Regions from separate parts of the Homo sapiens genome. Here regions 2 and 3 are each linked to region 1. Evidence: promoter capture Hi-C in human tissues and cell types (Jung and others, 2019). All regions are on one chromosome and are shown on one strand. The core of a region is centred on a gene start or on the middle of the fragment in contact, and the rest is flanking DNA. Distances in the headings are between cores, read along the strand shown.

Region 1 (3,172 bases), core at 212-2,711:
GGTGGTTCTGAGTCACTCAAGAACATTATATCGAGTGGAAATTAATGGACAAATTAGGCATTGACAAGCAGTTTCTATTTTCCTTTTTGTATGTGTTGGATATTTTCCAATTGCCCCTCCATATTCAGTCTCAGTCCTCAACCCTGCTGTGACACTTGGGAGACTGAGTTTCCTGGATTGCCCTCTGGCTTCCAGTTGAGTTGGGCCAATGGGAAGCCCTGGCAGGAGATCAGAAGAGAGCTGGGTTCAGGTTATTTATTACCTCAGCTTCCTTTGTGCTGGACTATGGCTTGGATGTAGCCCTCAACTGAAAGCCACAGTTTCTCTCAGATGGCCTGCTCCTAGGGGTGAGAATAGCTTCTAAATTTTGCTAGCCATGGGATTCTGCACCACTCCGTGTTGCATTTCCTTAACCCTGTCCACTTTGTGTAAATCGCCCCTTGTGAACTCTCCCCACTTACCTTGTTTGAATGTGCCATCTGTTTCTCTATCACCTTGTCACCATCTTCCTGGTGTTCAGGATCTATTCTCTGTTTCCATCTTTGGTGACTGGGGCATTAAAAAGGGGTGGATCAGATGAGTAAAGCAAAGCCTCAGGGCACAGATGGGCATCATCAATGCCCATCTGAAAGATCAATCGTCAACATGTTGCAGCCTGCCACTAGGAAGCACAAACCAGAGGACTACCAGGACAGCAGCTTGTAGCATGCCCTCCAATGGCAGCAGATGGCCTTATGGCTTTGGCTGTGCACCCTCAAGGTTCTCTGGCACTGGCAATAGATGACATTTGCTCCTACAGGGGGTGGGCAACCTCTCCAGGTTGCTTCACCTCCTCTTCAAGCAGCCCCTCCACCCCCTACCCCCAACCTACTCCTCCCAGATTCCACATATTATTGGGCAATGGCATCATTGTTCACTCACCAGGCGAGCCTAGTTAGAATTCACCCACAGGAGAAAACGAGTGAAGGCCGTGGGAAGCTAAAGTATGGTGCACCTCTGAGCTGGCTATGAACAAGTATTCCTGGGTATGGTGATGATGGGGATGAGCTCGTCTTGGAAAGGCAGGAGTTCTGGCACCTAGCTTCCCGTAGGATCTGGTTCCCCTCTTTGAAGTGTACCCAGGCGAAGAATGAGTGGCTCCCTTAACCCCTTCTCCTGGCCAGGACCAGTCTGCTAGATACTGCTGGCCCTATTTTCACCCCTAGCTTTGGATCCCTTTCTTCCCTGGAGGGAAAGAGGCCTTCAGGGCAGCCCCGCAGACACGACAGGAGGGATGCAAGAAAACAGGCGCGGCTGGGCATCCGAGCGTGGAAGGGAAATGTCCAACTGAGGGAGGTGAGGGATGTTGGACAAGCCCCGCCGCCCGCCGCACCGGAGCCGGAGAGAAGCAGAGACGTTGGGCCTCCCAGTTTCCTAGAGAGGCCGCGGAGGGCCCCGGGCGCCGACGCGCGTGCGCGACTGGAGCCGCCGGGAGGTAGGCGCGGGACGGGCGGCTGCGGTGGCGGCGGGTGGACCGATTGTCGCTCGGCGGCGGGAGTCGGTGAGAGGCCTGGCGGGGCGCGGGGGTGGGGGTGGCGGCATTGCGGGCGCGGGGCTCCCCGAAGTCCGCGGCATTCTCGGGCCTGCCCGGGCGGCGGACGGGGCCCGGCCTGGAGGCTGCGCCCGTGGCGGGGGTCTGGCGGTGGATCCCGCCCCCGCCACGCTGAGGGCGTATCTAGAACCTCTTTGCCTCCCAGGCGTCCGGGGTAGAGAATCTGGAGCCCGGGTTTCTCCGGGCTTTCTCGTTTCATCCAATTCTGCATATAAAGCGTATTTATCAGAGACAATTAGATAACACGGGAAAGTAGAAGAAAAGTAAAAGTAGCCGCAATCCTGAAATCTGTCTCCAGGCCTCCTGACATTTAAAATATCTGTGCATAATTCTGCACACTGACATCCATAAATATATATTACGAAATGAGAGCGTGCTCTTGCTTTTTAAAAAACCTGTTAGTATTATTGTGAGGAAACAATATTGTGCCAAAATAACACATAACATTTACCATACAATACATAAACGTTTACCATTTAACCATTTGGAAGTGTGTAATTCAGTGACATTAAGTATATCCATACTACTGCTTTTTAAAAATTATAATCTCCTGAATTTGTAGAATGCATTTGTTCTTATTTTGGCTAAAATTAGTGCTGGCATTATGACACCACTAAAACATTTTTTTTTTGGCGAGGATAATTAAGAAATCGTGTTTGCAGTTTATTTTCTGTAGGAGACACATTTGCATGAAGCTCTAAATGGTGAAGTGACATTTGTGCAGAAAAATAGCAAAATCTTGTTTGTCAGGGTGGTTATCTTTCACAATGAAGTAACTAGTATATAAAATGCAGTTTTTAAACAAAGGCAGAGCTCTAACCTGCAGCGATTGTAGCACACTCTGACTTGCACAGGCCTAAGAGATCAGAGTATTGTCTCCTTCCGAATTTAAAAGTGGTGGCCAGGAAAGAATGTTATTCTGTTTCAAACGGCTTGTAGTGCAAAACTAAAAACTCAGTATTAGGTTGGTTGTTTTGCAAGGAAGTGCCAGGGAGTGGTTTGAGCAGTAATTTGATTAAGCAGTTTCAGAGAGCCTCCATGTGTTGTGTGTGTGTCTGCGTGTGTGTGTGTGCATGCATGTGTGTGCATATTCAGGGACCAAAGAATTAGGCTGCTCTTTTATGTTATCTTAATGAAAGGCAGACACATTTTGGTTAGAAAAAAAAAAAAGTCTTACTGTAAGCCGAAAAGATGAGAATGTTTTGAAGATAAACCTCAGTATGCACTTAAAAAGGAAACTGACAAAAAGCATGAAAAATGGCAAGTATTCCACCGCTAGGTTTTCTCTGGCTTCCGGTATCCAGGAAGAATTAGTGCATAAGCAGTCTACGATGTCAGAGAGTAAACTATAGTAAAACATAACACTGTATTTTGCAATTTTCAAGATTTTGTATTAGAAACAATGTGAAAGAGTACATTTCTGTGACTCTCAGGCGAATTGTTAGGTGTTCTGTAAGATTGAATTTATGAATTTCTTTTTTTCCTTCCTATTCTTAAATTTATTTTCTTTTTCCTTGTTTATTTTATTTATTTTATTTTTGAGACGGAGTTTCACTCTTGTTGCCCAGGCTGGAGTGCAGT
Region 2 (3,172 bases), core at 456-2,955, 210 kb before region 1:
CTTGGTTGGTGAATTCTTCTCCATTCTGCCATTCTGTATCTTTTAAATGGAGCATTTAGGCCATTTACATTCAGTGTTAGTATTAAGATCCAAGGTATTATTCTATTCATTGTGCTATTTGTTGCCTGAATAACTTGGTTTTTTTTCATCATGTTGTTGTTTTATAAGTACTGTGAGATTTATGCTTTCAGGGGACCCTATTTTGGTGTATTTCAAGGATTTGTTTCAAGATTTGGAGCTCCTTTTAGCAGTTTTTATAGTGCTGGCTTGGTAGTGATGAATTCTCTCAGCGTTTGTTTGTCTGAAAAAGATTGTATCTTTCCTTCATTTAGGAAGCTAAGTTTCACTGTATACAAAATTCTTGCCTGATAATTGTTTTGTTTAGGAGGCTAAACATAGAACCCCAATCCCTTATAGCTTGTAGGGTTTCTGCTCAGAAATCTGCTGTTAATCTGATAGGGTTTCCTTTATAGGTTCCTGATGTTTTTGTCTCACAGCTCTTAAGATTCTTTCCTTAGTCTTGACTTTAGATAACCTGATGAGTGTGTGCCTAGGCAATGATCTTTTTGCAATGAATTTCCCAGGTGTTCTTTGAGCTTCTTGTATTTGGATGTCTAGATCTCTAGCAAGACCAGGGAAGTTTTTCTCAATTATTACCTCTAATATGTTTTCCAAGATTTTAGATTTCTTGTCTTCCTTGGGAACAACAATTATTCATAGGTTTGGTCATTTTACATAATCCCAAATTTCTTAGAAGTTTTGTTCATTTTTTAAAATTCTCTTTTCTTGGTCTTTGATGAACTGGGTTAATTTGAAAGGCTTGTCTTTGAGCTCTGATATTCTTTTCCTTCTTGTTTGAGTCTATTGCTGAGACTTTCCAGTGCATTTCCAATTCTCTAAATGTGTCCTTGATTTCCAGAAGTTGTAATTTTTATTTATGCTACCTATTTCACTGGAGAGTTTCCCCTTCATATACTGTATCATTTAAAAAATTTTTTTTAAGTTGGACCTCATCTTTCTCTGATGCCTGCTTGGTTGGCTTAATAGTTGACTGTCTGAATTCTTTTTCTGGCAATTCACAGATTTTGTCTTGGTTTGGATCCATTGCTGGTGAGCTGGTGTGAAAGTAGTGAAAGTACAGCTACACCATAGACAAAGTAGGGTGTCCCTGAAAGTAAGAGGAAGAAAGTGTCCACCCTAGGTGCAATGATCATATATATGGGGAGATGTGCTCTGTCTGCTACAAGGGTTTGTGATGTAGGATTAATTTTTTAATTACTATATTTTGCAAGAAAGGATATTATTATTATTATTACTATTTTCAAGATAGAGTTTCACTCTTATTGCCCAGGCTAGAGTGCAATGGTATGATCTTGGCTCACTGTAACCTCCGCCTCCTGGGTTCAGGAGATTCTCGGCCTCAGCCTCCTGAGTAGCTGGGATTACAGGTGCACGCCACCACATCTGGCTAATTTTTGTATTCTTAGTAGAGACAGGGTTTTGCCATGTTGGCCAGTCTGGTCTCAAACTCCTGACCTCAGGTGATCCATCCACCTTGGCCTCCCATCATGCTGGGATTACAGGTGTGAGAAAGCCACCATGCCCAGCCTTTTAAGGGAAGGTTTTTTTTTTGGTTTTTTGTTTGTTTGTTTGTTTCTTTTTGAGACAGAGTCTCACTCTGTTGCCCAGGCTGGAGTGCAGTGGTGTGATCTTGGCTCACTGCAACCTCTGCCTCCCAGGTTCAAGATTCTTCTGCCTCAGCCTCCCAAGTAGCAGGACTACAGGCGCGCACCACCATACCCAGCTCATTTTTTTTTTGTATTTTTAGTAGAGACAGGGTTTCACCATATTGGCCAGGCTGGTCTCGAACTCCTGACCTCGTGATTCACCTGCCTCGGCCTTCCGAAGTGCTGGGATTACAGGTGTGAGCCACTGCACCCGCCAAGGGAATGTTTTATGGCCTGCTTCAGGGGAGAATCATGGGAGAAGGTCAGAGAGACCATCTTGCTTCTGCTGTTTTCTCAAATGGCAAGGTGCCATATTTTATGATAGTGTTTCATGAATCCTATCTCAGCCAACGAAGAATAGATAACCTAATTTTCCCCAAGAGTCTGAAAATGTTAAACTTTACCTGAGTCTGCTCTCCTGGAAAACAGTGACAATTAAAAATCCCCACACCCTTTAGTGTTCTAGGAAATGACTTCCTGCAAAGAGCCATCCTTCCCCATATGACTTAGATGAGACTCACAGATAGCCCCACCCCCTTGTTTGTCTAGACACAGACCCTCCAGATGATTTGCTTTACAAGTGATTAACTGAACTGTTTGTACCCATGACCAATTTGGACAGCATACCTGCTAATTTAACTTGACCAAGCTTTAGTTAAGCTCCTCTCCCTCCCCTAGGTCCTTAAGTTTTGACCTATCTTCGGCCTGAGCCAGTAATGAGATGTAGAACAACCCCTCCTTATTATAAGAACATGTGATGGTTAATTTTAGGTGTCAACTTGACTGGGTTAAGGAATACCCAGATAACTGGTAAAGCACTATTTTGGATGTATGTCTGTGAGAGTGTTCCTGGAAGAGATTGGCATTTGAATCTGTGTTCTGAGTAAGGAAAATGTGCCCTCACACAACATGGGTGGGCACCATCCAAAGGGCTGAGAGCCCAGGTAGAACAAAAAGAGAGAGGTGAATTCACTCTCTCTCTCCTGGAGCTGGGACACCCATCTTCTCCTGGACCTGTGAGACAGGAGTAGCACTGGGTAGTCACAGGAGTATGGAAAAACCTGAACAACAGTTAAAATAAGAACTAGGCAAAGAAACCACAGGATAACAGAAAACTCAAAATAAGGGAGAGAAAATGGCCAAAACCCTGGTCAGGCTGACATGTCCATGACTCTTCTTGGCAAACCCAAATAAGGGAGAAAGGGGGTGGTAATGGGGGGAATAGGGGGCTGGGAGGAGTCTCTGAAATCCCTTTCTTTTCCAAAATACTGAATGATTATTCCACCCCATAATTAAAGAAACACCCATAAAATTAGAAACTCGTTGTGTGTGACTCATTCTCATGAGCACACTCACACTTCTCTCTTAAGTGTGTACTTTTGTTTTGCAATAAAAGCTTCTTGCCTTTCACTTCATTCTGACTTTTCCTTGAATTCTTACTTGCA
Region 3 (3,172 bases), core at 335-2,834, 160 kb before region 1:
GCATTCTCTGATGTACAACAAGGTTTTTATTCTGACTAAAGTCTTTTCCACACTCATTACATTTATAAGGTTTCTCTCCAGTATGGATTCTTTGATGTACCATAAGATTTCTACTAGAGGTAAGGACTTTCCTACATACATGACATTCGTAGGTTTTTTCTCCACTGTGAATTCTTTGATGTTCAATCAGGTTTCTGTTGTACGTAAAACCTTTTCCACACTCACTACACGCATAGGGCTTCTCACCAGTATGGATCCTCTGATGGGCTATAAGGTTTGAGCGGTAACTGAAGACCTTCCCACAGTCATTGCATTTATAAGATTTTTCCCTCGTGTGAATTCTCTGATGTCCAATGAGGCTTTTCTTCAGAATGAAGCATTTGCCACACTCATCACACTCATAGGGTTTCTCACCACTGTGGATTCTCTTATGCTCAATGAGGTTTCTGTTTGAACTGAAAGCTCTTCCACACTCACTGCATTCAAAGGGTTTTTCTCCGGTGTGGATTCTCCGATGTACAAGCAGGCTTGAATTGTAACTGAAAGCCTTCCCACAATCCTCACATTTGTAGGCTTTCTCTTGTGTATGGAGTTTCTGATGGACCATAAAACTTTTGCTCATAATAAAGGTTTTCCCACACTCTCGACATTCATATGGCTTCTCCCCATTGTGGAGTCTCTCATGGTCAATGAGGTTTCTGTTTGAACCGAAGACCTTACCACAATCTTTACATTCATAGAGATTCTCTCCAGTGTGGAACCTTTGATGTAAAATGAGGCTCTTCTTCAGAATAAAAACTTTCCCACATTCATTACATTCATAGGGCTTCTCCCCATTGTGGAGTCTCTGGTGGTCAAAAAGGTAAGCACTTTGAGTAAAGGCTTTCCCACATTCAGTGCATTTGTAAGGTTTCTCTCTGCTGTGCATCCTCTTATGGTCAATGAAGTTTGACTTAGAACTGAAAATCTTCCCACACTTTTTACAACCAAAGGTTTTCTTTTCTGTGTGGACTCTCTGATGTAAGAGGAGGCTTTTGCTTCGAATGAAAACTTTTCCACATTCTTTACACTTGTAAGGGTTCTCTGCACTGTGGAGTCGCTGATGGTCAATAAGATAAGTGGTCTGAGCAAAGGTCTTTCCACATTCATCACATTTATAGGGTTTTTCCCCAGAGTGGATTCTCTGGTGCAGAATGAGGCTCTTCTTCAGAATGAAAGCTTTCTGACACTTATTACATTTATAAGGTTCTTCCCCTTTGTGGAGCCTCTGATGGTCAATGAGGTAAGCATTCTGAGAGAAGACTTTCCCACATTCATTACACTTATAAGGTCTCTCCCCTGAATGGCGCCTTAGATGTATAATTAGGCCTGAGTGCCTATAGAAGCCCTTTCCACACTCCTTACACTTATAAGGTTTCTCCCCAGTGTGGATCCTCTGATGGTTTAGAAGGTAAGCACTTTGAGAAAATGCTTTCCCACATTCATTACATTTATAAGGTTTCTCCCCTGAATGGTTCCGTAAATGCATTAGAAGGCTCGAACGCTGAATAAAGCCTTTTCCACATTCCTTACATTTATGAGGTTTCTCACCAGTGTGGATTCTCCGATGGTTTATAAGATGGGAGATTTTATTAAAATGTTTACAACACATATCACATTTATAAAACTTCTTTCCTTCAGTACCTATTAAACTTTCAGAAATAGCTGAACCGAAAGTCAAGCTGTCTCCTAATTCCTTCCACTTTTGGCCTTGTTTCTCTGGTGGAGTCCTTTTCTTCTTGTCTCGTTCACAAAGGGAAACTTTCTTCACTGTATCTGCCCTTTCATCTGTTTCATTTCCCCACTGACTTGCCAAAACTTGCCATTCACACTCTTCTTCAAAATCAAGGACCTGGGGAACACTTCCTTGAAGTCTTTTTGATGTTCCTTTATGAGAGTCTGCTCTTTGAGAACTACTTGGCTTTGATGTCACCTCCTCATTCTCGGTCATGGTCTCCCATTCTGGTAAAAGGAATTAAAAATGCAAATGTTACCACGTCCCTGTGTTTGGAAGAACAGGATCTTCAAATGACTTTAAAACATTCTAGGAAGGCACACTTTAATATGCATACAAAAAGGAGAAACTTTTCATTAAAGGAAGGTACAAAGAATAATGCTACACTGACAAGATGTTGTAAATGGATTAACATACAACTCAGGTTGAGACATTTTTAAGTGCTTTGTCTTCAGGAAGCAGATAGAAAAATACAAATAATGCTGAGAAAACAGAAGCAAGGAAAACCAGAGAGAAAACACAGGATCTTATGGAGGTGGTTCACATCTAAGGAACTTGGATAGAAGAGCAAGAACCATTGGATTAGAAGTAACTTTCTTTATTATTTTCTTCATGTTAGAAGGATGGAAACTTTAAGGGAAGGAAAATATATGTAAGGACTCTGAAAGGCAATTTTTAATTTTTGAAAAGTCAAAGGCATGAATACTTTTTAACTGGTTGAAAGCAATTAACCAACAGAAAAGAAATCCATTGAAAAGCAACTTAATTCTTAGAATTCATATAACTCCTACTCCGTTTAAAATTAAGAAATGGAAATTTTAAAATTCATTTTAAATAGTCAGGTCTGTTATGAACTCCCTTAATTACACATAAAAGGTAAGAGAAGAAATACAGAAAAGAAAAGGGAAAATAGAATAAAAGTATGAAAACATCTGTAAAATGATGAGGCTAAACTAATATCCAAGGTTCCTATCTACTCCAATATTCTCAAATATTTTAAAGTATGAACAGTATGAAAATGTTTTGGAAGTTTACTTTCAAACTACCCAAGTGTGAGAGAAATTATGAGCCAGTTCCCCCAAACTGTCTAATAAGTAAAGTTATGTGAATAGCAGTAACATCATCTTCTCTTTGAATATAACAATACTTTTCTTCTATCTAAACAGAGAGAGAAGACAAGAGTGCAGCCATTTTATTTCATTATACATTTCTTTAAGTTTATGAAAGGATGAGGATGGCAAATATCCAACAAATATTAACTTGAACTACAGACATTCTTAGGTCAGGCCCTCATATCTCATCTCAACTGCCCTTCTCTCTAGGACTCAGGCAGGACTGCCAGTCACACTACCCAACCACCTGGCTGCAGGGATGGGTATGTGTCTTAAGCCTATCTAA

What was found. The method cuts DNA at HindIII sites, captures the fragments that hold promoters and counts their contacts. A contact is called where the count stands out against the background at its distance.
Region 2: a fragment that was not itself captured here is called in contact with the fragment with the promoter of ZNF445 in region 1 in 1 of the 25 tissues and cell types used here (IMR-90 fibroblasts).
Region 3: a contact is called between a fragment that was not itself captured here and the fragment with the promoter of ZNF445 in region 1, in 1 of the 25 tissues and cell types used here (aorta).

Annotation. Positions count from the first base shown.
Region 1 is chr3:44,475,959-44,479,130 of GRCh38, reverse strand. It overlaps ZNF445 (zinc finger protein 445), which reads left to right and starts at 1,461. Exons shown (of 8, transcript NM_181489.6): 1 at 1,461-1,540. LOC101928529 (a long non-coding RNA gene) reads right to left here and starts at 1,441. Exons shown (of 4, transcript XR_940785.4): 1 at 922-1,441; 2 at 462-549. RefSeq lists silencers at 1,484-1,643, 1,664-1,713. The HindIII fragment of the contact is 14,864 bases long and covers 1-3,172 here.
Region 2 is chr3:44,688,010-44,691,181 of GRCh38, reverse strand. No RefSeq gene overlaps it. Among named protein-coding and RNA genes, the nearest start is that of ZKSCAN7-AS1, 3.9 kb to the right of the region's middle. The HindIII fragment of the contact is 6,943 bases long and covers 1-3,172 here.
Region 3 is chr3:44,640,729-44,643,900 of GRCh38, reverse strand. It overlaps ZNF660-ZNF197 (ZNF660-ZNF197 readthrough), which reads right to left. Exons shown (of 8, transcript NR_147692.2): 8 at 1-2,001. ZNF197 (zinc finger protein 197) reads right to left here. Exons shown (of 6, transcript NM_006991.5): 6 at 1-2,001. All of the region lies in intron 2 of ZKSCAN7-AS1 (ZKSCAN7 ZNF cluster antisense RNA 1), which reads left to right. Among named protein-coding and RNA genes, the nearest start is that of ZNF35, 6.4 kb to the left of the region's middle. The HindIII fragment of the contact is 6,969 bases long and covers 1-3,172 here.